Regions from separate parts of the Homo sapiens genome. Here all the other regions are linked to region 1. The links are contacts of gene promoters, found by promoter capture Hi-C in human tissues and cell types (Jung and others, 2019). All regions are on one chromosome and are shown on one strand. The core of a region is centred on a gene start or on the middle of the fragment in contact, and the rest is flanking DNA. Distances in the headings are between cores, read along the strand shown.

Region 1 (5,053 bases), core at 1,026-3,525:
CAGCCCAGTCTAAGGAATGGCCAAGAGGCCTGTGTGGCTGGAGCAGAGTGAATGCGAGAGAAGGAACAGGAGTGATTCACAAACATGAAAGTGCTAAGGCTGATGAAAGTCAGGCTCTGCGTAGTGCCATGTCTGGGAAATATTACTAGCTACAATTGATGGAGTGCATTCCACACACCTGGCACTGCATTCAGTCCAGCTCACACCAAAACTGCTACAGGAGCTTAGAGTGTAACAGGGAGTCAGTCAAAGAAACTTCACAGCGCCACGTGACAGGCGTTACATCAGGGTGCTAGGGAACTACAGAAGAGGAGCATCTAACCCCAACTAGGGGGGGAAGGAGGCTTCCTGGAGGAGGTGGCATTCAAGCTGTCAAGCAGGAGAAGGAAAACACTTCCAGGATGCAGATGCAGAGAAGGAGGGAAGGCCAGAACCTGGACCAGCTGGTCAGAGCTCCAGGTGCAGTGCTGGGGACCAGGGCACAGCTTGCTGGAAGAAGAGCTCGGGTTTGTAGGGTTGAGAGAGCCTCTGGACACGGAGGCCCAGGCTTAAGTGTGTTTGTGCAAAATTGGTGGTTATGGAGTGGGGGACAAAGGGCAAAAAGGGGTGGGATAAAGACTTTGATAATTAGGCCAGGCACGGTGGCTCACACCTGTAATCCCAGCACTTTGGGAGGCTGAGGAGGGTGGATCACTTGAGGTCAGGAGTTGGAGACCAGCCTGGCCAACATGGTGAAACCCTGTCTCTACTAAAAATACAAAATTAGCCGGGCGTGGTGGTGCGCGCCTGTAATCCCAGCTACTCAGGAGGCTGAGGCAGGAGAATCACTTGAACCCGGAAGACAGAGGTTGCAGTGAGCCAAGATTGTGCCACTGCACTCCAGCCTGAGCAACAGAACAAGATTTTCTCTGTAAAAAAAAAAAAAAAAAAAAAAAAAAAGACTTTGATAATTTGTCTGCCTACCTGGGCCCTGCTTTCTCAGGGACTTTAGGTGGGTCCCTGGGCAGTGAGAGGGAAGCAGAAGGTAAGTGGCCACCCCCACCTGTCCCAGGTCTTAGTTTCTCGTCCCATCCTAGCAGGTTCAGATACTTCTTTTAGGCAGATTTGTGGGTGCTCGCTCTGGGGCAGCCCAGGACATTCTGGTAGGAGACTCCTCAGTTAATAATACCTCACATACTTCCAGCACTTCTTGGTCTTTTATGTGCTTTTACGGCCATAACCTGTGCGTCTGACAGTCAATCTAGGATGGACAGAGCTCTGTTCTAAGCCTCTTTTTCGTAGGAGCTGCAGCTCAGAGAGGTTAAGGGCCTTGCCAAGGCCACGCGGCCAGTGGGTGACTAAATTGGGACTTGATCCCAGCTCTTGAGATTGCAAACCCCATAGTGACACTGCAGCAGCTACAGAAAACGGGGCCTGATGATGGCTGGGTCCCAGTGACACGTCTGGGGAAGCGGGGAGAACGAGCTCTGGCATGGGAGGAATGGAAAAGGGGGGAAGATGGAGACGGGGTGATGGAAGCTAAGCGTGGAGGCAGGAAGAGAGCTCTGGCAGGGGTTGTAGAGGCTTTGAGACAGAACTAGCGGTGTCTCCAGAAAGACCCCGTGAAATGTCCCAGCAGGGCTGAAAGAAACAGAAGAGGTGTCCTCCCACCCCATGTCTCTGTGAACCAAGGCAGGGAGGGACCTACTGTGTGCATTTCACAGGCGAGAAAAAGGAGCAAGGATAGGTGGCTATTGGCTTGCCCCAGGCCCACAGGAGCGCAGGGCCCAGGGGCCCTGTTAGAAGCGGGCAGCACAGGCGAGACTTCCAGACCTTCCCCTCTACCAGGGATGATGAAATAGATGATGAGAGGGGAGGTGGAGATGGAGACAGAAATCAGGGCCGCATCCAAAGAGGGAGGAGGAAAAGGCAGAGGCGCAGCTGGAGCTGCAGAGAGGTGCAGAGACAGTGGAGATGAGGCCCTGATGCCCGGCTCTGGTTTCACGCGGGCAGCGTCAGCTGGTCGGTGTCACGGAGTTCCCGCGTCCTCCGCCCGCTCAGCCCCCGCGGACCCATCCACTGGGGTTGCTCCGCAGCGCGACTCTCTCTCATCCCGGGGGAGGGCTAAGGGCGGCGGTGGGGGGCGGGGTGGGGGGGAAGCGGCGGGAGGGGGCGGTGCGCCGCCGCCTTACCCCGGGCTCGCGAATCCGCAGCGTCCTCCGCAGCATCTTCCCAGGCCCGGCCCTCTCCTCCCCCCGCGCCGATGGTACGCGCCGGCTCGCCTGGCCCGGCTGCAGTGGATGTTGCTAGAACCCACGCGGAGGAAGGAAGAGACGCAGGCAGGCTGCGGTTACCCAAGCGGCCACCCGGGCCTCAGGGACCCCTTCCCCGAGAGACGGCACCATGACCCAGGGAAAGGTACCGGCATCTCCCCAGCCTGCACCATCCTCCATCCTCCGGCTCCCGGCTCCCTGTCATCCTCAGCAAGCCCTCTGGACCACGAAAGCATCCTCCCCTGGCCCTAGTTTGAAGGTCCTCCGTGGTCCTTGCTGAAGTCAGAGGACCGAAAGGCCGGTGTCAAGGAATGGACCGAGGCCTCTTCCTGCCCGCAGGCGCGCCTCTCCTCCCCTGTCACCCTGCCACCCCTGCTTTGGCATTACAGCATTACAAGGCTCCTCACAGATACCCAGGCCCCCCGTGAGGAGTCAGCCCGGGCGTCTGGTGTGACTGTATGTGTGTGCATGGGTATGTGTGTGCCAGGGTGAGCCCTGAGGGGCAGTGCCTATCGGGCAACCCCCTCTGGCCCAACCCTCCAGTCCCAAACCCAACCACTTTATGCTCATCTTTCCCACCCTCCACGGAAACAACCCCCACCCTACTCCCTGCCATTGTTCCACATCTGGGCGTCTTGGCTCCATCCCTGTGCTTGGGGCTTGCTATGACAACTCTGCATCAAGATGCTCTAATTGTTGTTTTGGTTTTGGCCAGGCATGGATGGGTCCGGATGAAGCATCTCTTCTCCAGTTTTAGGCCTGAATTGTAGGGGAGGGGCTGGGGCAGAGACTCGGCTGGCCTAGTAGGCTTATGTAACATCAATAGCCTGTGGAATTATACAACCACTAGGGCCTGGGGCTAAGGGGGAGGGTACTCGGGCCCTCTGTTTGGGTTGCTAAGGATTGGGCAGAGAAAACAGGGGAAGGACCTCCCCTACACTCCCCCTTCTTCTCTTTGAGAGGAGCTTCAGAGCCAATGACATCCTTCCCTGGACCCTCAGACCCTCCTCTCCCTGTATGCAAGCTCTTTGGGCCTCAAATGATGTCACTGGGTGATACCACCTCCCGCCATTGGTCACACCTCACTTGGGAGTGCCGTATGTGTGTCGGGGGCCTGGGCATTAGGGTCCAGGAGGCTCTGGGGGGCGGAGTGGCAGGGTGGAGGCTGAACTCGATTTAGGTGGACATGATCCTTCAGATCCGGGTGATGAGGGGGGCTGGGGAGTGGGAGGCAGTGGGAGGCCTGGGGAGTGTTCAGTTCCGTAAACATGGAGAACTCACCCCTTCTGCTGAGTCTCCTTCCACCTCCACCCTGCCTCCACCAGGCCCTTTAGTGGCGCTGTTCCCTTCCTGGTGTGAGGGGGACCTCTGCCTCCTCTGCCCCTTGTCCCCAGCTCACGCACAGGCTTGCTGGGGGATGGAGAAGACCGCTCCAGTTCAGTGGTCCTTGGGCCTGGATGGAACCAGAAGTCTTCTGGTGCGTGCCTGTCTCCAGGCTGCCTCAGCCAGATGCTCCCTGCAAAGAAGGAAGTCCGCAGTCTTCCTCAGTGGCCCTTTAGGTCTAACACAGTCTTCTGGGAACCAGACCTAAATCCCATTTTCTGAGAGCCGGGCTTTTTGTTGCTGTTTCAATTTCACACCACCCCCTCCACCCCAGTCTTTCCTTCTCTGGCTGCCTCATTCAGGCCTTCCCAGCTCAAATCCTCTCACCAAAGCTAAACATGTCCACGGGTGGGGGGCAGGGGACACATCTGAGTGTAAATGGACTCGCATTTCCAACCTGCCATGGGGACGTTTCCCTTTGAGCCTCAGTTTCCTCATCTGTTCAGTGACGGAAGAGACTCAACTGGATGTCTTCTGAGGCCCCTTCCACTGGGTCACTCTGTGAGTCTGTTCTGGTTTAGGGGAGAGGCTGAGATTCCTACAGGATGAGGCCAGAACAGACCCTTAGCCTGGATCCTCTTGCCCTTCCTCCACCCTGAAGGCCCTTCTTCTTTTCTGTTTTCTCCCTCTCCTCTTCCCTTTCTGTTGCCCTTCTCTCTCCCATCTCCATTCTCCTTGCATCACTTCCAGCGCAACAGAAGGATCAATCCCAGTGGATGATGCCTAGGCCCTGCCTCTCAGTGGGCCACATGCAGCTCTGTGACCTTGGATGAATCGCTCTTCCTCTGTGATCCTCATTCTCCTCATTTTAAAGCAGGGGTCAAAATGCAGCTAGCAAGTCTCAGGAAGATTAAATGACATAACCTTTTATTTGTAACAATCTACTATGTGCCAGGCTCTTTTCTGGAACCATAGAGACCCTGCCCCTACCCCAGGGACAATGACAGTGACAACCAATGGTGGACACTCCTAAGAATTTTCTCTTTCCTCTGTTCCTATCCCAGCTCCACCATGTGCCCCAGCTAGCTCTGACCCCTCTGGAGCTTAGTTCTCTTGTCTATAAAATAGAGACATTCTTGTCTGCATTCCTGGCTTCCAAGTGCAGGTAAGGAAGGAACCATGAAAGTTCCAGGAATTGAAGAGTTGGTGAGGAGGAGGAGTTGGAAGGCTCCCTTTCCCTGGTGACTATCTCTCTCTCTGACTCTACTCCATAGCTCTCCGTGGCTAACAAGGCCCCTGGGACCGAGGGGCAGCAGCAGGTGCATGGCGAGAAGAAGGAGGCTCCAGCAGTGCCCTCAGCCCCACCCTCCTATGAGGAAGCCACCTCTGGGGAGGGGATGAAGGCAGGGGCCTTCCCCCCAGCCCCCACAGCGGTGCCTCTCCACCCTAGCTGGGCCTATGTGGACCCCAGTAAGTCT
Region 2 (5,096 bases), core at 289-2,788, 240 kb before region 1:
CTAAAATCAATATCTCAGCATAAGTATAGCCCATTTGTGTTACTTGCCACAATAGTTGAGAAGCTTAATCTAGACTTTGGTTTTATTTGTGTATAATTCATATTCATCAGTGGTGTAATGAATCACAAAAGTAGCATTGTGAATATACATCCTGTCTTTGATAGGAAAAAGCGAAAGCACTAGGTAATTTCATCCTAATTAACCCAGGCTTAGGTCAACTGCTGCTATGTATCTGGAGAGCAGGAAAAGGGCAGAGTGAAATGATCTCTACAAAGCAGGACAAATCTAATACTGTCAGGATGGGTCACTAGACTCGTGTTCCTGGAGTTACAGGTGGAAAGTAGTAGCTTCTTTTTATAGACCACTAAATGCCTACTTACTAAAATCTGCCAGGAAAGGAAAAATCTTGTCTGACAAATTATTTTAAAATGTGGATTGATCCTGGAGAAGACAGAAAGCCACACTAAAAGTATAATTTGTCAGTATCATCTAGCACAGCAGTTTTCAAACTATGATCTCAGGACTCCTTTACAATCTTAAAAAATTTTCAAGGATCCCAAAGAGTTTTTGTTTATGTGGATAGTACCTATCAATGTCTACTGTTTTAGAAAAAAAATGGGGAAAATGTACATGTTTTCTACATGTATTTATACATGTATAAAATGTCTACACGCACACACACACACACACACACACATATATATATATATATATATTTTTTTTTTTTTTTTTTTTTTTTGAGATGGAGTCTCGCTCCGTCACCCCAACTGGAGTGCAGTAGCGCAATCTTGGCTCACTGCAACCTTCGCTTCCCGGGTTCAAGCAATTCTCCTGCCTTAGCCACCTGAGTAGTTGGGAATACAGGTGTGCACGACCATGCCCGGCTAATTTTTTGTTGTTGTATTTTTAGTAGAAGATGGCATTTCGCCATGTTGGCCAGGCTGGTTTCAAACTCCTGACCTCAAGTGATCAGCCTGCCTCAACCTCCCAAAGTGCCGGTATTACAAGTCTGAGTCACCACGCCCGGCCTATTTATTTATTTATTATTGAGACAGAGTCTGCTTTGTCGCCCAGACTGGAGTGCAGTGGTGAGATCTCAGCTCACTGCAACCTCTGTCTCCCGAGTTCAAGAGATCCTCTCACCTCAGCCTCCTGAGCAGCTGGGACTACAGGTATGTGCCGCCATGCCTGGCTAATTTTTGTATTTTTTGGTAGAGATGGGGTTTCACCATGTTGGCCAGCCTGGTCTTGAACTCCTGAGCTCAAGCAGTCTGCCCACCTCAGACTCCCGAAGTGCTGGGATTACAGGCATGAGCCACCGCATACAGCCTATTTATTTTTGAGACAGGATCTGGCTCTATCACACAGGCTGAAGTGCAGTGGCGCAATCACAGCCCACTGCAGCCTCGACCTCCCAGGCTCAAGTGATCCTCCCACCTCAACCTCCCAAGTTGCTGGGACCACAGGCATGAGCTACCACACCTGTCTAACTTTTGTGTTTTGGGGAGAGACAGGGTTTCACCACGTTTCCCAGGCTGGTCTCAAACTCCTGGGCTCAAGTGATCCACCTGTCTCAGTCTCCCAAAGTGCTAGGATAACAGGCATTAGCCACCGTGCCCAGCCCATATTTATTCATTTAAAAATAGCAATGGCCTGGGAAACATGGTGAAACCCTGTCTCTACAAAAAAAAAAATTTTTTAATTAGCTGGGCATGGCCAACACCTGTAGTCCCAGCTACTTGAGAGGCTGAGGTGGGAGGATCACTTGAGCTTAGGAAGTCAAGGCTGCAGTGAGCAGTGATCACACCACTGCACTCCAGCCTGGGTGGCAGAGTGAGACCCTGTCTCAATATAAATAAATAACAATGAACTCATTACGTTTTATGAAAAATAACTATTTTCCAAAACAAAAAACTGTGAGAAGAGTAGCATTTTAACATTTTTGAAAATATCTGGCAGCTGTAGTCTCATGTCAGCGTCTGCATTCAGTCTGTTGTTATATGTCATGTAACTTATGGAAAGTTCCACTGTACTCTCATGAGAGAGAATAGATTTTTATGAAATTATAGAATTATTCTGAAGATAGTTTTGACCTTGTAGACCTACTGAAAGGGTCTCTGGATCCCCCAGGGGTCTCTAAACCACACTTTGAGAAATGCTGATGTAGCAGAAATGATGAATGCCAGGCTCTGGAAATTGACCACCCTAGGTACCTATTTTTTTTTTTTTTTTTTTTGGAGATGGAGTCTCGCTCTGTTACCCAGGCCAGAGAGAGTGCAATGGCGTGATCTCAGCTCATTGTAATTTCCGCCTCCTGGGTAAAAGCAATTCTCCTGCTTCAGCCTCCTGAGTAGCTGGGGTTACAGGCACACACCACCACGCCTGTCTAACTTTTTGTATTTTTAGTAGAGATGGGGTTTCACCATGTTGGATAGGCTGGTCTCGAACTCCTGACCTCGTGATCCGCCCGCCTCAGCCTCCCAAAGTGCTGGGATTACAGGCATGAGCCACCGCGCCTGGCCTAGATACCTGTTTTATAAGTTATACCAAATACCAACCTTTTGTATGATGTAGAATTAATACTTTCTCAAAAGCTATAATTTCAAATAATTTCACTTTCTTCAGTAAGGTAATTCATTAACTGTGTATAACTAAATCTATATATTTAATTTTTATCACAAATTAGAAAAGATTATTTTCCAATCACATCTGGAAAATATAATAAAGCTTCATTCTGTAGCACAAAATAAACAATCAACAAGTATTTGTCAAATGTTCTTTTTTTTTTTTTTTTTTTGAGACGGAGTCTCACTTTGTCGCCCAGGCTGGAGTGCAGTGGCGCGATCTCGGCTCACTGCAAGCTCCGCCTCCCGGGTTCATGCCATTCTCCCGCCTCAGTCTCCCGAGTAGCTGGGATTACAGGCGCCCGCCACCACGCCCGGCTAATTTTTTGTATTTTTAGTAGAGACGGGGTTTCACCGTGGTCTCGATCTCCTGACCTCGTGATCCGCCCACCTCGGCCTCCCAAAGTGCTGGGATTACAAGCGTGAGCCACTGCGCCCGGCTGTCAAATGTTCTTACGCTCCATATAGCTGGAACTGACTGGATATGAGTAGCTTTATGCTTTTCACCGAACTCTGAACTAACGAGGGCAGGATGTGAGCTAATGACAATTCTAGATTGTTAAGTCCACTCCATGATCCAGATAATAGTAATTTTAAAATTGGCTTCACCGAGGTGAGCAGAATATAGACCTGTTATATCAAAGAGTATTTCTTGCTTCTCACTTTCTGCTGGAGGTACCAGAGAGTACCCAGACTGAAATATGTTTCTAGTGAAATAATAATAGCTACTCTTTAATGAATGTTTGCTAAGTGTCAGGTATTGGTGTAGGCATACATTGTTTCATTTTATCTTTAAAATAACCCTGTGAGGTAGATATTATCTCCATTCTATGGGTATGTAACAGTCACAAGGTCTTTCAGCTGGTAAAATCTGTCTAACTGCAGATCTGAGTTTTAATCAGCTGACTGCCTCTGGATTAAAGAAGCCTGGGTTAGGGGTAAGAGTAGGAATTGGAAAGGCTGTTTTCTGCCTTTGGATTTTCATGCAATTATGTCGATAGGAGAAAGGAGGAGACAGGGTTTTTAGATGATTTTTATCTCTGATATGGCATCAACTCAACAACAAAGAATGACGGCCTCATTTACTCTTCTGAATGCTGATTAATTTTGGGTCAGAATTGACCTCCAATACAACAAGAGTGGGTTTCACTAAAACATGTTGCTTGTCAGTTACTGAGCAACTGCTGAGCATAGTACCTTGGTAAATATAAAAGCAGTCTATTTGTGTTTACAAGGAGTTTAAACATGAGTTGGGGGTTAAATATTATTGGTATACAGAATAGTATACCAGTAAATGTAAATTAAGGTATCCACTGGCATTGGCCTTTGAATGGAACTATTTTTTTTTTCCCCCCCACCGGTGTAAAAGAGAATGTGTTACAGATGTGGCTAAATTTATGCTCTGAATAAATATTACTCTATGGCTCAGGAACTTTGGTGATAAGGTAAAAAGTTTTCATAGAGGGAGATAAAGTTTCTTATTCTCAATCCCTCCTTTAGAGATAATATATTCTAGGTTCAAATGCAGCTCAAGAAAATAGGTTAACGGCACTCCATTTTACACCTCCCAGTCATATTTTCATTATGGGACTCCTTAAGATGCTAAGGGCTAAAACTGGTTTTGACTTATCCTGAAAGTGGCAATATAGAGTTTTCCTAGTGCTGATGTTCTTAAAAATCTCTGATTACGGGGGAGAGTGAGATCTTTCTTGAAGAACCAAGGAATAGTTCCTCAATTTTCAAAGATTCAAAAGTTGGAAATTAATTATAATCAATCAATGATAACATCATAGAATCTTAGATATACAAAAAAATCTTAGAAATCATCTCATATAACCTCTTTTTATTTTTTATTCTTCTTCTTTTTTTTTTTTTTTTTTTTGAGACGGATTCTCACACTGTCGCCTGGGCTGGAGTGCAGTGGCACAATCTCGGCTCACTGCAACCTCCGCCTCCAGGGTTCAAGCAATTCTCCTGCCTCAGCCTCCCAAGTAGCTGGGATTACAGGCGCCCACCACCACGCCCAGATAATTTTTTTTTGTATTTTTAGTAGAGACGGGGTTTCACTATGTTGACCAGGCTGGTCTCCAACTCCTGACCTTGTGATCCTCCTGCCTCAGCCTCCCAAAGTGCTGGGATTACAGGCGTGAGCCACCACGCCCGGCTTTTTTATTCTTTTTAAAAATTTAAATCCTTGGGACTCTGCTTGATATAACCTCTTCTTTTAGATGATGAAACCAAGACCCAAGAGGTAAGTGATTTTACCAAGTTTATATGCCTTATTAGTAGATCTGAGACTACGATAGAGTGCTAATAGGTGATTTCCTTCTCACCTTTCCTAGCTTCCTGATTTCTTTCTTCTCGACTCCTGAAAGATCTAAGTATTTCCATAATCTCTTGGTTAGGCAGGAAGGTATCCAAGATCCAGGATATCTATATGCAGGAAGAGCTTAGTCTCAGTTCTACTTTTCC
Region 3 (5,309 bases), core at 718-3,217, 160 kb after region 1:
ATCATCTGCTTCCTGAGGCTCTCTCCCACAAATGAAACAATCACAATGGCTGGCTTGCTTTCTCTGGTTTCTTCTTTCCTTCTCTCATTAACATCACTACTCACCTCAGAACTTTTGTTAATTCTGTTCTTAAGGACAGATACAGTGAGAAGCTGCAGAACCTACTAAGGTTGTTGCTCTCTCCTCTGAGTCACACGGATCTGGGCCCTCTTGATCTAGATGGTGCAATTATTGCAGGTTGTTACAAGGCCAACCACAGCCTTCCATAACCAAGATGAATATGACTATGTCCTCTAGAGAGCACACTTACAGCATGGCAGAATTCAGCACCTGGAAAGTGTCTTTGTTTAAGGTTTCCCATTAACACCCCTAATGACATCCCTAGACAGCACTTACAATAATACTGAAGCAACTTTCAGAGCCAAGTTTCTCAGTATTCACAACAGCAATGCTAAAGAACCTCTTGCTTCCAATTACAAGAATTAAAGAAAGGTAAGGGATGGAGCGGGGTGGATCCTCAAACGCCCAGGGGATTCTAAGAAAGAGGCAATGCTCATGTAACCAGACCCTGCTTGGCGGAATCTGTTCGAGGGGAGAATGGCAGAAACTCCCCTTTCTCAGATACTTCTCTGACGTTTCCCAGGGGGTACTGACTGCCTCTTTCTGGTTCTCTCTTAACAACTGTTGATGGAAAAACCAAAACCATCAAAGGCTGTGTGGGTTGGGGCAGGGGGATGAGATGTCAAACGGCAATTTCACTTTGATTTAATAGAAGCTTGTGGTTTGAAATCATTAAAAAATAACTAAAACTTCTGTTTTTCAATATCAGTATTTCAAAATTTAAAACAAAACATGTAACTACCAAATATTATAGACGCAAAAGGGCACAGCAATTTTATTAGCTTTATGGAGAAAAAAAAGAAACCTGGTAAAGCAGATGGTCCCTGACTTACCAGGGTTGACCTATCACTGGGAGAAATTGATACTCATTCGGTACACTCCTTGATTTGCGATGGCTTACATCTGGATACACCCATTGTAAATTAAAAATATCGTTGACTCAAAAATGACTTACAGGTTGGGCACAGTGGCTCACGCCTGTAATCCCAGTACTTTGGGAGGCCGAGGCAGGTGGATCACTTTGACGTCAGGAGTTCGAGACCAGTCTGGCCAACACGGCGAAACCCTGTCTCTACAAAAAATACAAAAATTATCTGGGCATAGAGGCACGCCCCTGTAGTCCCAGCTACTTGGGAGGCTGAGGCAGGAGAATCACTTGAATCCAGGAGGTGGAGGTTGCAGTAAGCCGAGATCACACCACTGTACTCCAGCTTGGGCAACACAGCGAGACTCCGTTTCAAAAAAAAACAAAAATGACTTACAAAAAGAAAAGGACTTACATTTTCAACTTACGGTATTTTCAACTTATGATGGGGTTTTCCAGATGCAGCCCCGTCTTGAGGAGCATCTGTATACATTTAATGTATATGACACAATGTACAGATGACAATTTCAGAAATGTTAAAATGTGAGAGGGAATACATAGGTCTTAGAATCAAAGAAATATGATAGTTTGCTCTAGAGCTGTTCCAAATAGACAAGAATATACAGATAAGTAATGAGATCAAACTGTTCTGACAAGTTTTGCCAGATAAAATAAACTTACCAAGTTTCAATCTTAGCTTCAACTAGCGAAGCTCAGAAAAGATACCTACATTTCAATGGCCGATATGCAAACTCAGCCAAACAAGATTAAGTTGCACTTAACTCAAAAATAGCAGCTCTCATATCAAGTATTTTCCATTCTAGGAGCAATCAGCTCTTAAGAGCTTGAAGTATTATATTCAGTACCATTAACCAAGTAACTCGCTAACATTCCAGAGGAGCCCACAGTTAAATGAAAATCTTTGTTTTAAAAAAACACATTAAAATGTTATAGTTTACCACAATAAAGAAAAAAAGTACATTACAAGCTGCTAAAAAATTCAATACAGCAGTCCTTTCACACCTCTAAGCCTATTACTTACTAATTCAATTCTAAAATAAAGAGGAGGGGTTATTTACATAGAATACAATGTGGATAGTGCCTCCTGGAGTTGTGGAAAATCTGCCTATACTGCGTTTGTAACTGAAAAGTAAATGTTCAGGTGTTAATCATAACCAAATTCCTCTAATTTCATTCAGAGCCTCCTGTTATGCCTTCATCCCAGGAGAGGAAAACCTGTCAGAAGCTGTCAACATGTCATGCACATACTGCTAAAGTTTTGCTGAAGTGTCATCATTCTGTGGTATCCCTGACCAGCCTCCTCTGCCAGAGCCATGCAAAAACAAAAAGCTAAGAGCTTAATACATAGCTCTCCCAAGAAAAAACTCAAGTAAACACAATTGTTTGAGTTAGATATTCCTGTGGTCTGCTTTTGCTTGGGAAGACAGGGACAGCAGGGGCTGGTAGGAGGAGACAGGCATTCTTAGCAGTGGACATCTAGGTCATGTTAAATGCCTTGTTTTGTTCTAGGTATCTCCCTTACCCTTGTCCTAAAATGAAAGACTATTATCAAGGGTCCAGCCTTAAATTAAAAACAAAACAAAACAAAACAAAAAAAAAACAGGCTGGGTGCGGTGGCTCACGCCTGTAATCCCAGCACTTTGGGAGGCAAAGGCAAGCAGATCATGAGGTCAGGAGTTGGAGACCAGCCTGGCCAACATGGTGAAACCCTGTCTCTACTAAAAATACAAAAATTAGCTGGGCGTGATGGCGGGCACCTATAGTCCCAGCTACTCAGGAGGCTGAGGCAGGAGAATCGCTTGAGCCAGGGAAGCGGAGGTTGCAGTGAACTGAGATCACGCCATTGCCCTCCACCATGGGTGACAGTGCGAGACTACGTGTAAAAAAAATTTAAAAATTAAAAAAAACACAACCATTCTCTTCAGTCCTATTCCCACACACCTAGGAGCTACAGTGAACATGAAACATGCTGAAGTAGCCAAAAGCTATGCAAAACAAAACTATCGTGGATTTAGTATGCGTTCTATGCAATGCTGGAGCCAAGACAGACTTTGCCTCAGTGTGTACAGCAACATTAAAACAGCAAGTCAAAGAAACACTGTTCGCACATTTAATTAAATATCAGTTTATGTTTTATTATGAAGACAATAAAGTCTCAAGGTTATGTTCACTTCCAAAAAACAAAAAAGGAAAAAGGCCATGCACAATGTCTCACACCTGTGAGCCCAGCACTTTGGGAAGCCAAGGTGGGAGGGTCGCTTGAGCCCAGGAGTTCCAGACCAACCTGGGCAACACAGCAAAACCTCATCTCTGCAAACAATTAAAAAATTAGCTGGGTGTGGTGGTGTGCGCCTGTTGTCCCAACTACTTGGGAGGCTGAGGAAGGAGAATTGCTTGAGCCCAGGAATTTCAGGCTGCAGTGAGCCATCATCATGTTGCTTCACTCCAGCCTGGTAACAGAGCAAAAATGTGTCACTGCACCCCAGCCTGGGCAACACAGCAAAACCGTTTTATAAAATTAAAACAAAAAAATTAGTTTGTCAATTACATGGTTCTTTCTTCCTGTTGTATAAATTCAACCATCCTGAACCTTGTTCCCACATATCTAGAAGGGACCAAATTGATACTTAGAAGAAAAATCCCATATAGTTTAAAAGAGGGGAAAGGGCTGGGCACGGTGGCTCATGCCTGTAATCCCAGCACTTTGGGATGCCTAAGTGGGTGGATCACCTGAGGTCACGAGATCGAGACCAACCTGGCCAACATGGTGACACCCAGTCTCTAGTAAAAAAATACAAAAATCAGCCAGATGTGGTGGTGGGCGCCTGTAATCCCAGCTACTCAGGAGGCTAGGGAAGGAAAATCGTTTGAACCCAGGAGGCAGAGTTTGCAGTGAGCCGAGATTGCGCTACTGCACTCCAGCCTGGGTGACAGAGCCAGACTCTGTCTCAAAAAAACAAAAACAAAAAAAGGAGGGGGAAGAACTGTTAGTAATTTGTCAGTAGTTTTTTTTCTTCTTCTTCTTCTTCTTCTGTGTTTTTGGCCAAGAAAGCTTTCCATTCATTAGTTTTTACTACTGAGTAATGTTCATACACTGTATAACCATGTCCCCTGCATAGTGGTTAAGACTGCCTGCTACTTCTGAATCCTAGTTATTTCCTTAGCAGTGGGACATGCAGCAAGCTGCTGGCACTTAACCTCACTGTACTTCAGTTTCACCTACCATGTGTAAAATACTAGTACATAACAATCCTTATTTCCTAAGGTTGCAGATTAGGTGAGATAATACAAATAAAGTTCTTAAAATAGCTCTTTGTACATAGAATGAGTTCAATACATGGTAACCATTGTTATTACTGGTGTACTAACATTGTTATTACTGGTGTACTCATTACTACAATATCTTCAGTAGATTATTCTCTTTTAAAAGTCTAGTTTTAGCCTGTAATCCCAGCACTTTGGGAGGCTGAGGCAGGCGGATCACTTGAGGTCAGGAGTTCGAGACCAGCCCAGCCAACACAATGAAACCCCATCTCTACTAAAAATACAAAAAATTAGCCAGGCGTGGTGGTGGGCGCCTATAATCCCAGCTACTTGGGAGGCTGAGGCAGGAGAATGGCTTGAACCCAGGAGGCGGAGGTTGCAGTGAGCCGAGATTGCACCACTGCACTCCAGCCTGGGCGACAGAGTGAGACTCTGTCTCAAAAAAGAAAAAAAAAAAAAGAGAGAAAAGAAAATTATAAACTGAAACATAAAGGCACTTGAAAAATCTCATTACTGGTAAAAGTATAGATGCTCGATTTACAATGAAGTTACATCCCAATAATCCCATTGTAAACTGAAAGTATCGTAATTTATGCACTTACTACATATAACCTACCAAACATTATAGCTTAAGCCTAGCCTACCTTACCTTAAATGTGCCCAGAACGCTTACATTAGTCTGAAGTTGGGCAAAACTATCTAACGCAAAGCCTACTTTATAATAAAGTGTTAAATATCTCATGTGAAAATATCATACCAGATATCCCTAGTCTGGGAAAAGATGGAAATTCTAAATGTGCTGGGTTTTTTTTTTTGAGACAGAGTCTCGCTCTGTTGCCCAGGCTGGAGTGCAGTGGCACGATCTCAGCTCACTGCAACCTCTGCCTCCTGGGTTCAAGTGATTATCATGCCTCAGCCTCCCAAGTAGCTGGGATTACAGGTGTGTGCCACCATGCCCAGCTAATTTTTGTATTTTAAGTAGATACAGGGTTTTGCCATGTTGGCCAGGCTGGTCTCAAACTCCTGACCTCAAGTGATC
Region 4 (4,843 bases), core at 2,146-4,645, 210 kb before region 1:
CAGTGGGCCGAGATCATGCCATTACACTGCAGCCTGGGTGACAGGGAGACCCTGTCTCAAAAAAAAAAAAAGGAGGATCATGAGCTGGGCTTGAACACGTTAAAATGAAGATGCTCGGCCGGGCGCGGTGGCTCAAGCCTGTAATCCCAGCACTTTGGGAGGCCAAGGCGGGTGGATCACGAGGTCAGGAGATCGAGACCATCCTGGCTAACACGGTGAAACCCCGTCTCTAGTAAAAATACAAAAAAATTAGCCGGGCATGGTGGCGGGTGCCTGTAGTCCCAGCTACTCAGGAGGCTGAGGCAGGAGAATGGCATGAACCCGGGAGGCGGAGCTCGCAGTGAGCAGAGATCGCGCCACTGCACTCCAGCCTGGGCAACAAAACCAGACTCCGTCTCAAAAAAAAAAAAAAATTAAGATGCTCAGCCAGGCATGGTGGCTCACACTGGTAATCCCAGCACTTTGGGAGGCTGAGGCAGGAGAATCGCTTGAGCCCAGGAGTTCAAGACTACGCCTAGGCAACACAGCGAGACCCCATCTCTATTTAAAAAAAAAAAAAAAAACCGGCCGGGCACGGTGGCTCACGCCTGTAATCCCAGCACTTTGGGAGGTCAAGGTGGGCAGATCACAAGGTCCAGAGATTGAGACCATCCTGGCCAACATGGTGAAACCCCATCTCTACTAAAACTACAAAAATTAGCTGGGCATGGTGGCGCCTGCCTGTAGTCGGAACTACTCTGGAGGCTGACGCAGGAGAATTGCTTGAACCCAGGAGGCGGAAGTTGCAGCCACTGTACTCCAGCCTGGCGACAGAGTGAGACTCCATCTCAAAAAAAAAAAAAAAAAAAAAAAAAAAAAAATTAAGATACTCAACACAACATTCATGTGATGATGTCTATCAGGCAGATGGAAATACAAATTTAGATAGATACAGCTTAGAAGGGAAGCTATGTTTCAGATACATATGGAGGTAATAAGCAAAACCAAAGGAGAGGATAAGACCAGAAAGAGAGAGGCCAAGGGAGCAACAGTTCAAAGAAGGCAACAATTAAGGAGAAAAGGCAGGTAGGAAATTCCAAGGCCCGGCGCAGTGGCTCACTCCTGTAGTCCCAGCACTTTGGGAAGCCGAGGAGGGCGGATCACCTGAGGTTGGGAGCTCGAGACCAGCCTGACCAACACGGAAAAACCCCACCTCTACTAAAAGTACAAAAATTAGCCAGGCGTGGGGTGGCACATGCCTGTAATCCCAGCTACTCAGGAGGCTGAGGCAGGAGAATCGCTTGAATCCAGGAGGCGGAGGTTGTGGTGAGCTGAGATCGCGCCACTGCACTCCAGCCTGGGCAACGAGTGAAACTCCACCCCTCAAAAAAAAAAAAATTCCAGAAACACCTGTTTTTTTTTTTTTTTTTTTCATTTAACTACATCCCCCTTCCTGGTTGAAAACCACTGCTGAATCAAGTCACTGCCACTGATGGAGGTGTACTGTATCTTTCCAGTGTGTTAGGCTAGAATAAAAATTGAGAACCATAGCTGGGTGTGGTGACATGCACCTGCAGTCCCAGCTACTAGGGAGGTTTGGGTGGGAGGCTTGCCTGAGCCAACGAGTTTGGGGCTGCAGTGAGCTGTGATCACGGCCCTGCACTTGCAGAGCAAGACTGTGTCTCTAAAAATAATAATAATAATGATAATAAAGAAAAAAAAAAGGCTGGGCGTGAGCCACCTGTAATCTCAGTACTTTGGGAGGCAGAAGTGGGCTGATAACCTGAGGTCAGGAGTTCGAGACCATCTTGGCCAATATGATAAAACCCTGTCTTGACTAAAAATACAAAAATTAGCCAGGCATGGTGGCACATGCCTGTAATCCCAGCTACTCAGGAGGCTGAGACAGGAGAATCATTTGAACCCGGGAGGCGGAGGTTGCAGTGAGCCGAGATCGCGCCACTGTACTCCAGCCTGGGCGACAGGGCGAGACTCCGTCTCAAAAAAATAAATAAAATAACAAACAAATAAATAAATAAATAAAATAACGGCCGGGTACAGTGGCTCACGCCTGTAATCCCAGCACTTTGGGAGGCCGAGGCGGGTGGATCACGAGGTCAGGATATCGAGACCATCCTGGCTAACACAGTGAAACCCCATCTCTACTAAAAACACAAAAAATTAGCCGGGCGTGGTGGCGGGCACCTGTAGTCCCAGCTACTCTGGAGGCTGAGGCAGGAGAATGGCATGAACCCGGAAGGCGGAGCTTGTAGTGAGCCGAGATCCCGCCACGGGACCCCAGCCTGGGCGACAGAGCAAGACTCCGTCTCAAAAAAAAAAAAAAAAAATTGCGTAAACGTATGGGTAGAAGTGCGATTTTGTTACATGCATACACTGCATAGTGGTCAACTCAGGGCTTTTAAGGTATCCATCATCTTTTATCTACTTTTTGTTTGGCACTTAGAGAGTAGTACATCGGCCGGGTACGGTGGCTCACGCCGGTAATCCCAACACTTTGGGAGGCCGAGGCGGGAGGATGGCTTGAGCTCAGGAGTTGGAGACCAGGTTGGGCAACATAGGGAGACCTTTTCTCTATTTAAAAACAACAACAACAACAACAAAAAAAAAACCTTTTTTTAAAAATTACCCGGGCGTGGTGGCGCACACCTGCAGCCTGAGCGACAAAGCAAGACCCTGTCTCAAAATAACATAACATAACATAACATAACATAACATAACATAACGTACATCATGCTACGGAGGCCGCTAAAAAGAACATGGCTTCTGTCATACAGGAGCTTATGGTCTCATGGAGAGGCACTGTGAGAGTTCAGAGACAACAGCTCAAAGACAGGGTGGGGGCTTGAGAAAACTTAGCAGAAAGGTGTAGGGGTGGGAATCGGGGTGGGAGTGGAACTGTCTTTTTAGAAGGATGGCCTGGAGAAGAGGAGCAGTGAGAGCATTCCAGGAAGTGAAAGCGGTCAAGAGGTGGAGCTGGATAGCCGATATGCACGAAGGGTGCCCCGGAGAGCCACTTATCAGGACGCAGAGGTCTATAGAGCAAGGAAGAGGCAGAGTTGGAGCGTGGAGGGTCGAGACGCCAGGCAGGAGTCGAGGTTTGACAGGATTAGCGCTGAGCTCTAGCAAGACTGACCTACTGCTGCGAGGAGCTTGGGCTTGGGCAGGAAGCAGTGCAGCTCGCGGTCCGCAACGCAACAGAAGCGGGTGAATTCAAGGGCACCAGGCCTGCAGACTAGGGGATGGGAGGACGCGGCAAGCGGAGACTGGCCCAGGTGGGCGCGCAGGCAGTGGGACTGGCAGCCCCTGCTCGGCCCTAGCCGGCAGCGTACCTGGATGCTGCAGCTCCTTCGCATCCAACCGAGGCCTCCTCAGGCAGGCAGGGTCTCGAGGCCACTGTCTACGCAACTTCCCAGCACAGCCGAACGCAGCACTCGGAACCAGACACGTGAGGGTAGCGTCCCTGGACAACCCTGAACGCCTCAGCTATTGGTGCAGAAAGCAACTTTCTCCCTCCCACCTGCCGGGTTAGCCTCTAGGATTCGGCTTGCCGCGCTATAAAGGGAACTGCGCATCAGACGCGGCACAACTCCGCCCACTAAGGCGGGAGTCCGCGCAGGCCGTCACTCTGGCTGGAGGCCGGCTTTGAACTTCCGGCTTCCGGGCCCGTTATCCTTACTACGCATCCTCAGACGCGCCGTGCTCTCGGAGAGGCCCGCTGAATTCTGGGGGCTGTGGTTTCTCTCCCTCGAGGGAGGGTCTTTGGCGAGCCAAGCTCTGGAACCGGAAGTTTTAGGATGCTAAATCAGAGTCAGCCAATCCTCAGCCTACGGTGCGGTGACGTCGCCAGTAGCTGGGTAGATTTTCGCAGCCGGCCTTCTGGAGGTGGATCGCGCGCCCCCTAGAGCCCGGCTGTGGGCCTAGTCCAGGTAGGGGCCCGAGGGGCACCGCGATGCCTGGACCGCTAAGGATGCGGCAGCTTGGCCCGTGACCAAGGAATGGGCACAAGGGATGAGAGTCTAACGTTTCCGTCCCGTGTGTGATCTCTATTCTTGCAGGAGGCATGATAAAGCCCCTAAGAAGGGCCGGCAAGGCCGGGGCCAGCTTGCGGCGAGGGCGGGAGGGGGCGCTGGCGGGAGGGGAGAGAGAGGGATGGGGACTGAGTGGGCACCGCCGCTGACCCCTGGAGTAGCTGCGATTATGGAGGAGGGATTTCTTTTTTCATTTTTCCTACGGTAAGAGGGAAAACATACGTGCAATGATACGCGCCAGCACACGCACTGCCACATGCACTGAAGCTCCCTCTCCCAACTCTTCTTGTTTCTGGAAAAAACACGCTTTATTGGGTAGACAAATAGGCCTGATGGGAAGGCCTGAGTCACAGTGCACTGGGGAGTGAACAAAAGTAGGCAAAGTGCTTGAAGCTTCCCCTTTGCCCCCACCTTAACCTCCTGGGGAGGCAGCTCTGGACACTCAGTACCCAGACCTGGGCTCAGCAAGGCCTGGGGTGACTGTGCCCCTCACTCCTGCTGCCTGATCTGGGCAGCCCCACCCTTCACTGGTAAGACAGAATTCTCAAGGGATAGGCGCAGAGAGGAGCCCGCCTCCCTGGTTCATTGGAGAGTAACAGGGTTTTAGCATAATGCTGGCCAGAGCCAGTGTGCCAGGTGCTGCCACACAGGAAGCTGACAGCCCTGCTGGACGGGCGGGAGCCTCTCGGGCCCTCCGGACTATTTATAGCTGGAGGCCTAGGCTGCTGACCTGTGACATTCCTCTGCTGCCACCCCATCCTGGAGCAAGGCAAGTGCAGAGCACACTCCTCCTCCTCCCCTCCTGTTCTTTCCTC
Region 5 (4,606 bases), core at 474-2,973, 180 kb before region 1:
AGCCCCTCCCCCTTTGCCATTCTGTTCTTATCCTCCTAATGTAATTCTCAGTTTGTAGGCGGAAGGGAGAGATGCAATTTAAATGCCAAGGAGAGTTGTGCTGTGCCTTTGATTTCTCATCCTAATTCTGCTGAAGGTTCCTGGGTCCTCTCCTTTGGCTCTCTGCCTAGTACTTTCCTGTGTTACCTTGATGGGACGTTTCAAGGCCTCTTGGATATCTAGCCGTTTCCTCATGATAGTCTGGTCCAGTTTCCTTTCAAAAGCCAAGAGATCCATATAGGCCTGGGATTCTGGTACCAGTTCACGAATCTTAGGAACAGAAAAATTAATTGAAATCTAGGATGATCATCTCTATACTCAAACTCACCACACTTTCCAGAAGACATATAGCCTGGACTCACCCTTTGAGGTAGAATTTTGTCAGCCATCTTCTTTTTCTTTGCACTGTTGGGAATAAATACTATTATCAGGTTGGGACAGAACTAGTCAGAACGTGAAAATAAGCTGTCAGCACGTCCATTTATAGTAATGTGAAGGGACTGCAAAGCTTCTCTCAAAGAACTACCACCACCACCACCACCACCAAGCATTCTCAAGGATGAGTTCTGTAGCACCATCTGCTGACACAGCACCACCACTTCTTGGTTCAGGTACTCCCACCACCTGTGTCCTCCCAGGCTCCCTCCCTCCCTCCCTCTGCCCCAGGATCATCTTACTTGTGGTTTCGATTTTGGACCGCCTGCTGCTGGACCTGCTGGATCTGCTGAGGGGCAGGTCTCTTGCGGGACTGATCCATCCCTGACTGGGCCAGGCCAGGTCGGACTGAAGGGTTCCCCCCATAGCCAGGGGGTCCCATGGAAGGTCCCTGAGGTGTCATTCGGCTGCCTGGCAACATACCTGGTCTCTACAGAGGGGAGAGGACCCAGAGATGTCATGGTTTCACCTGCTAAACCCCATCAAGAAAGAAAAGCAGGGAACGCCTGAGATCTTTGAATGAAGTAAGGTTTAGGGATGGAATGGAGGACAATGAGAGGAGAACCCTTTGCTCCAGTAGTGACTCCATAGAAAAACAGAGTCCAAAAGCTAAGCGAGAGCCAGATTATACTCAAATTCTCAGTCTATTTTGGATGGGACACATCGGACATCGCCAGTTCCACATTTACTCTGCTAGCTACTATCTCTTTAGAAGCTGACCTCAATTTGTCAGCTACACGTTCTGTGTTCCTCTGATCACTGGAGCTGCTCAAGCCCCTTTGCACTCCGGCCCTCATACAGGTATCCCTGGACCCACTTCACCCACCCAGGTTCTCTACCGACTCCCCAGGGAAACAATGCCCCTAGGAGCAGGTGTGTAACTGCCTCCCCCTCTCTTTCTGCGCACTGCCTCCCCCAACCCCCACCCAGAGCCCGAACCCCTCCCAAGGGAGTCCCTCCTACTTCTCCCCCCACCCCTGTCACTCCCATGTCCCCGCTCGGCCCCGCCCCCGGCCCGCGCGCCCCTCCTCCTGCCCCACTCACCGGATAGGCCGCTCCGGGCATCGGGGAGCGGTACAGCCCTTGACCCGGAGCCGGGCCCATTCGCACAGGAGGCCCCGGAGTTCCGCCCGGGCCCAAGGCAGCAGCCGCGCCCGCCCCTCCTGAGGCTCCGGCGCCGCCGCTTGGAGCCACAGACTGGAAACCCGCCCGGGCCGCCATCTTCCCGGAGCCGCCGATGCAGCCGCACAAAGAACCGGAACCGGAACTCCCCCCGCCCCCCGAGCGCCCCCCGAGCGCCCGCCTGTTCCCCCGGCCGGCCGGCCGGCACGGGAGGCTCAGGGCAGCGAGACTATGGGATAGAGCGGGGCGACTAGCGGAAAAGGCGTGCTGGCCACGCCCTCCCGCCTTCACGGTCCGGGAGGGAAAACCATAGAGAAGAGCTCTGCAATAGAGAGGCCGCGTGAGCGGGCGCCCCCAGGCCGACGGGAGGAAGACAAGGACCTGGAAAGGGGGACGGACCACAGCCTCAGCCCCAGTCTCAACCCCAACTCGAGCCCTCTGATGAAGAGGGGCTTGGAGTAATAGCTTCATCTTGGCGCATGGCGTTAACTTTCCAAAACGCTTTGACTGCTTTTCGTTTCGTTTTCTTACTGCTATAACTATCAGGGGCTGAGGAGGGAAACACAGTTTATTCCATTTTACAAATGGGAAAGCTGAACTCACAGGTGAATGACTTGGCAAAGGTCAACCAGCAAGTTAGCCATAAAGCCGAAGCCAAGATTCCAGATACCCTTGCTCATAGCCCGGGACTCATTCCACAGATAAAGTGCCTCAATAAGTACCTCACGTGGGAACTTCATCCTAACTTTCTCTCTGACCTAACCTGCTTCCGGATTATTATTTTTTATTTTTTATTTTTTTTTAGATGAGGTCTGTCTCTCTCTCGCCCAAGCTGGAGTGCAGTGGCACCATCTCAGCTCACTGCAACCTCCGCCTCCCAGGCTCAAGTGATCCTCCCAACTCAGCCTACCAAGTAGCTGGGACCACAGGCATGCACCACCATGCCAGACTGTTTTGTATTTTTGGTAGGGATGGGGTTTCGCCATGTTGCCCAGGTTGGTCTCGAACTCCTGAGCTCAAGCGATCTGTGCTCCTCAGCCTCCCAAAATGCTGGGATTACAGGTGTGAGCCATTGTGCCTGGCCTCAGATTTTTTTTTTTTTAAATATTAAAAAATAGGGATGGGGGGCTGGGCACGGTGGCTCATGCCTGTAATCCCAGCACTTGGGAGGCCCAGGCGGGTGGATCATGAGGTCAGGAGATCGAGACCATCCTGGCTAACACGGTGAAACCCCGTCTCTACTAAAAACACAAAAAAATTAGCCGGGCGTGGTGGCGGGCGCCTGTAGTCCCAGCTACTCGGGAGGCTGAGGCAGGGGAATGGTGTGAACCCGGGAGGCGGAGCTTGCAGTGAGCCGAGATCGCGCCACTGCACTCCAGCCTGGGCGACAGAGCGAGACTCCATCTCAAAAAAGAAAAAAAAAATAGGGATGGGGGTTTCACTATGTTGCATAGGCTGATCTCGAACTCCTGGCCGCAAGTGATCCACCTGTCTCAGCCTCCCAAAGTGTTGGGATTACGGGCATGAGCCACCGTGCCAGCCTGCTTCCAGATTTTATGATAAGTTCCAGTTTATCTTGAATTTTGACTCTGCTCTCTCTCTCTAAAGCATCCTTTGTATTGGGGATTCTGTTTTGGAACTTTGTTGCCTTTGACTTCTCCCTCTTTCCCTGCCCAGTGGTTCAAACTATTCCTGATATAATGGTCAGCCTGTCCCATCCCAGGGGGACCACAGTGTCCCTACTCAAACCTTCTCCTTACTCATCCCCTAATTGGCCCCAAACCAAGCTCAGCTTTAGGCACTTAGTGAGAATATCTAAATACTTTTTCAAATAAGAGAACAACACTGAAGAGGAGATGGTTGAAACCCAGTTTATTAGACCAGAGGCATGCGTCACCCAGAGCCCTGCCTGCTGTTCCCCTATCCAATGCACACTTTTTGGCCTCATTCCTGCTTCCCTCTGGGGAGGTATGATCTCTGAGGAAACTCTTAGGAACCAAGAGATTCCAAAGATCCTACAGCCTTACTCTCCAGCTCCAGGCCAATGCAGCTGCTCACAGGTCCTGTTCTGGGATTGAAGACCAAGACACAGCTAGGGAAGGAAGGCCTGAAGAGGGGTTGGGGCTCAGGCCTGGAAGGAGTGTCTGGTGGAGGGAGGGGGGGCAGGCCCTCCACCTCACTTGTCTCTCATTAAGATAGGGTGAGACAACAGCAGAGCTTTCAACTCCTCCTCTAGGCCTCTCTTTCCTCCCAAACCCACCTCACCAGAAAATAAAAGTGGTGGGCTTGGGTATCAGGTGAGGAAAGGGGGCTGGGCACCCAGAAGGAGGAAAGGCCACTGACTGAGGACCTCAGCTTCTGCCTGTCAGCATCCCACTGCCCCAACTTCAGGAGTCGCCAATCCCCAGCTCCCTTCTGTCTCTGACACACTTGGCTTAGTGTCCAGGGTAGACCTCCATCCCCTGGGTGGGGGCTATCTCTACAGCAACCCCTTCCCTGGGGATGCCACTGTCAGCTGGGCAGAGGGCAATGGGATAGGAGGAGCAGGGGAAGAGAATGTTAAGGCTGCAGGGAGGGCCGAGGGTGCCCGGGTTGGGGGAGAGGGTGAGGCCAGAAAGAGGCAGAGCTTGTGATTCACAGCTTCCTTTGTCGCCACTGAGACAGTGCAAAGGTTACAATGCGCGTGTCGTCTCCTTGTGCTTCTCAGAGGGATGTGTGTACACAGTACAGACACCAGGGGAGAGAGTCCAACTCTTTATACAGGCGAAGGCATTCAGAGACCAGGGAGGGAGTAGAAACATAGAAGGTGGAACTTGGGGTGGGAGAATGGTTCTCAGAGACAAGAGGGGATGGGGTGGAGACAGACAGGGCTGGGAAAGTATATACAGAGATATAGCAATATAGAGTCTGTATCATATAGAAATAGAAAATGCAGATGAGGTTGTTGAGAGAAGCAAATGAAGTTGGGGAAGAGGATGTGGGAGAGTTCCATAAGAAAATTTATGGACGT

The links. The method cuts DNA at HindIII sites, captures the fragments that hold promoters and counts their contacts. A contact is called where the count stands out against the background at its distance.
Region 2: a contact is called between a fragment that was not itself captured here and the fragment with the promoter of FAIM2 in region 1, in 2 of the 25 tissues and cell types used here (dorsolateral prefrontal cortex and hippocampus).
Region 3: a fragment that was not itself captured here is called in contact with the fragment with the promoter of FAIM2 in region 1 in 2 of the 25 tissues and cell types used here (adrenal gland and mesenchymal stem cells).
Region 4: the fragment with the promoter of COX14 here is called in contact with the fragment with the promoter of FAIM2 in region 1 in 1 of the 25 tissues and cell types used here (hippocampus).
Region 5: a contact is called between the fragment with the promoter of SMARCD1 here and the fragment with the promoter of FAIM2 in region 1, in 1 of the 25 tissues and cell types used here (adrenal gland).

Annotation. Positions count from the first base shown.
Region 1 is chr12:49,901,122-49,906,174 of GRCh38, reverse strand. FAIM2 (Fas apoptotic inhibitory molecule 2) reads left to right here and starts at 2,275. Exons shown (of 12, transcript NM_012306.4): 1 at 2,275-2,397; 2 at 4,850-5,045. The coding sequence starts at 2,383. The HindIII fragment of the contact is 14,088 bases long and covers 1-5,053 here.
Region 2 is chr12:50,144,548-50,149,643 of GRCh38, reverse strand. The region is part of intron 1 of CERS5 (ceramide synthase 5); the gene reads left to right. All of the region lies in intron 1 of LOC124902931 (a long non-coding RNA gene), which reads right to left. Among named protein-coding and RNA genes, the nearest start is that of CERS5, 20 kb to the left of the region's middle. The HindIII fragment of the contact is 4,983 bases long and covers 1-4,029 here.
Region 3 is chr12:49,745,501-49,750,809 of GRCh38, reverse strand. The region is part of intron 1 of TMBIM6 (transmembrane BAX inhibitor motif containing 6); the gene reads right to left. Among named protein-coding and RNA genes, the nearest start is that of TMBIM6, 6.6 kb to the right of the region's middle. The HindIII fragment of the contact is 5,733 bases long and covers 1-4,833 here.
Region 4 is chr12:50,110,788-50,115,630 of GRCh38, reverse strand. It overlaps COX14 (cytochrome c oxidase assembly factor COX14), which reads right to left and starts at 3,395. Exons shown (of 2, transcript NM_032901.4): 1 at 3,330-3,395. It overlaps GPD1 (glycerol-3-phosphate dehydrogenase 1), which reads right to left. Exons shown (of 8, transcript NM_005276.4): 8 at 4,318-4,843. RefSeq lists enhancers at 3,066-3,115, 3,126-3,365, 3,586-3,845, 3,906-3,955. The HindIII fragment of the contact is 18,391 bases long and covers 1-4,843 here.
Region 5 is chr12:50,082,459-50,087,064 of GRCh38, reverse strand. SMARCD1 (SWI/SNF related BAF chromatin remodeling complex subunit D1) reads right to left here and starts at 1,723. Exons shown (of 13, transcript NM_003076.5): 1 at 1,519-1,723; 2 at 717-904; 3 at 402-444; 4 at 187-309. The coding sequence starts at 1,695. It overlaps ASIC1 (acid sensing ion channel subunit 1), which reads right to left. Exons shown (of 12, transcript NM_001095.4): 12 at 3,454-4,606. RefSeq lists enhancers at 300-1,031, 1,881-2,140, 2,498-3,230 and a silencer at 1,371-1,810. The HindIII fragment of the contact is 20,407 bases long and covers 1-4,606 here.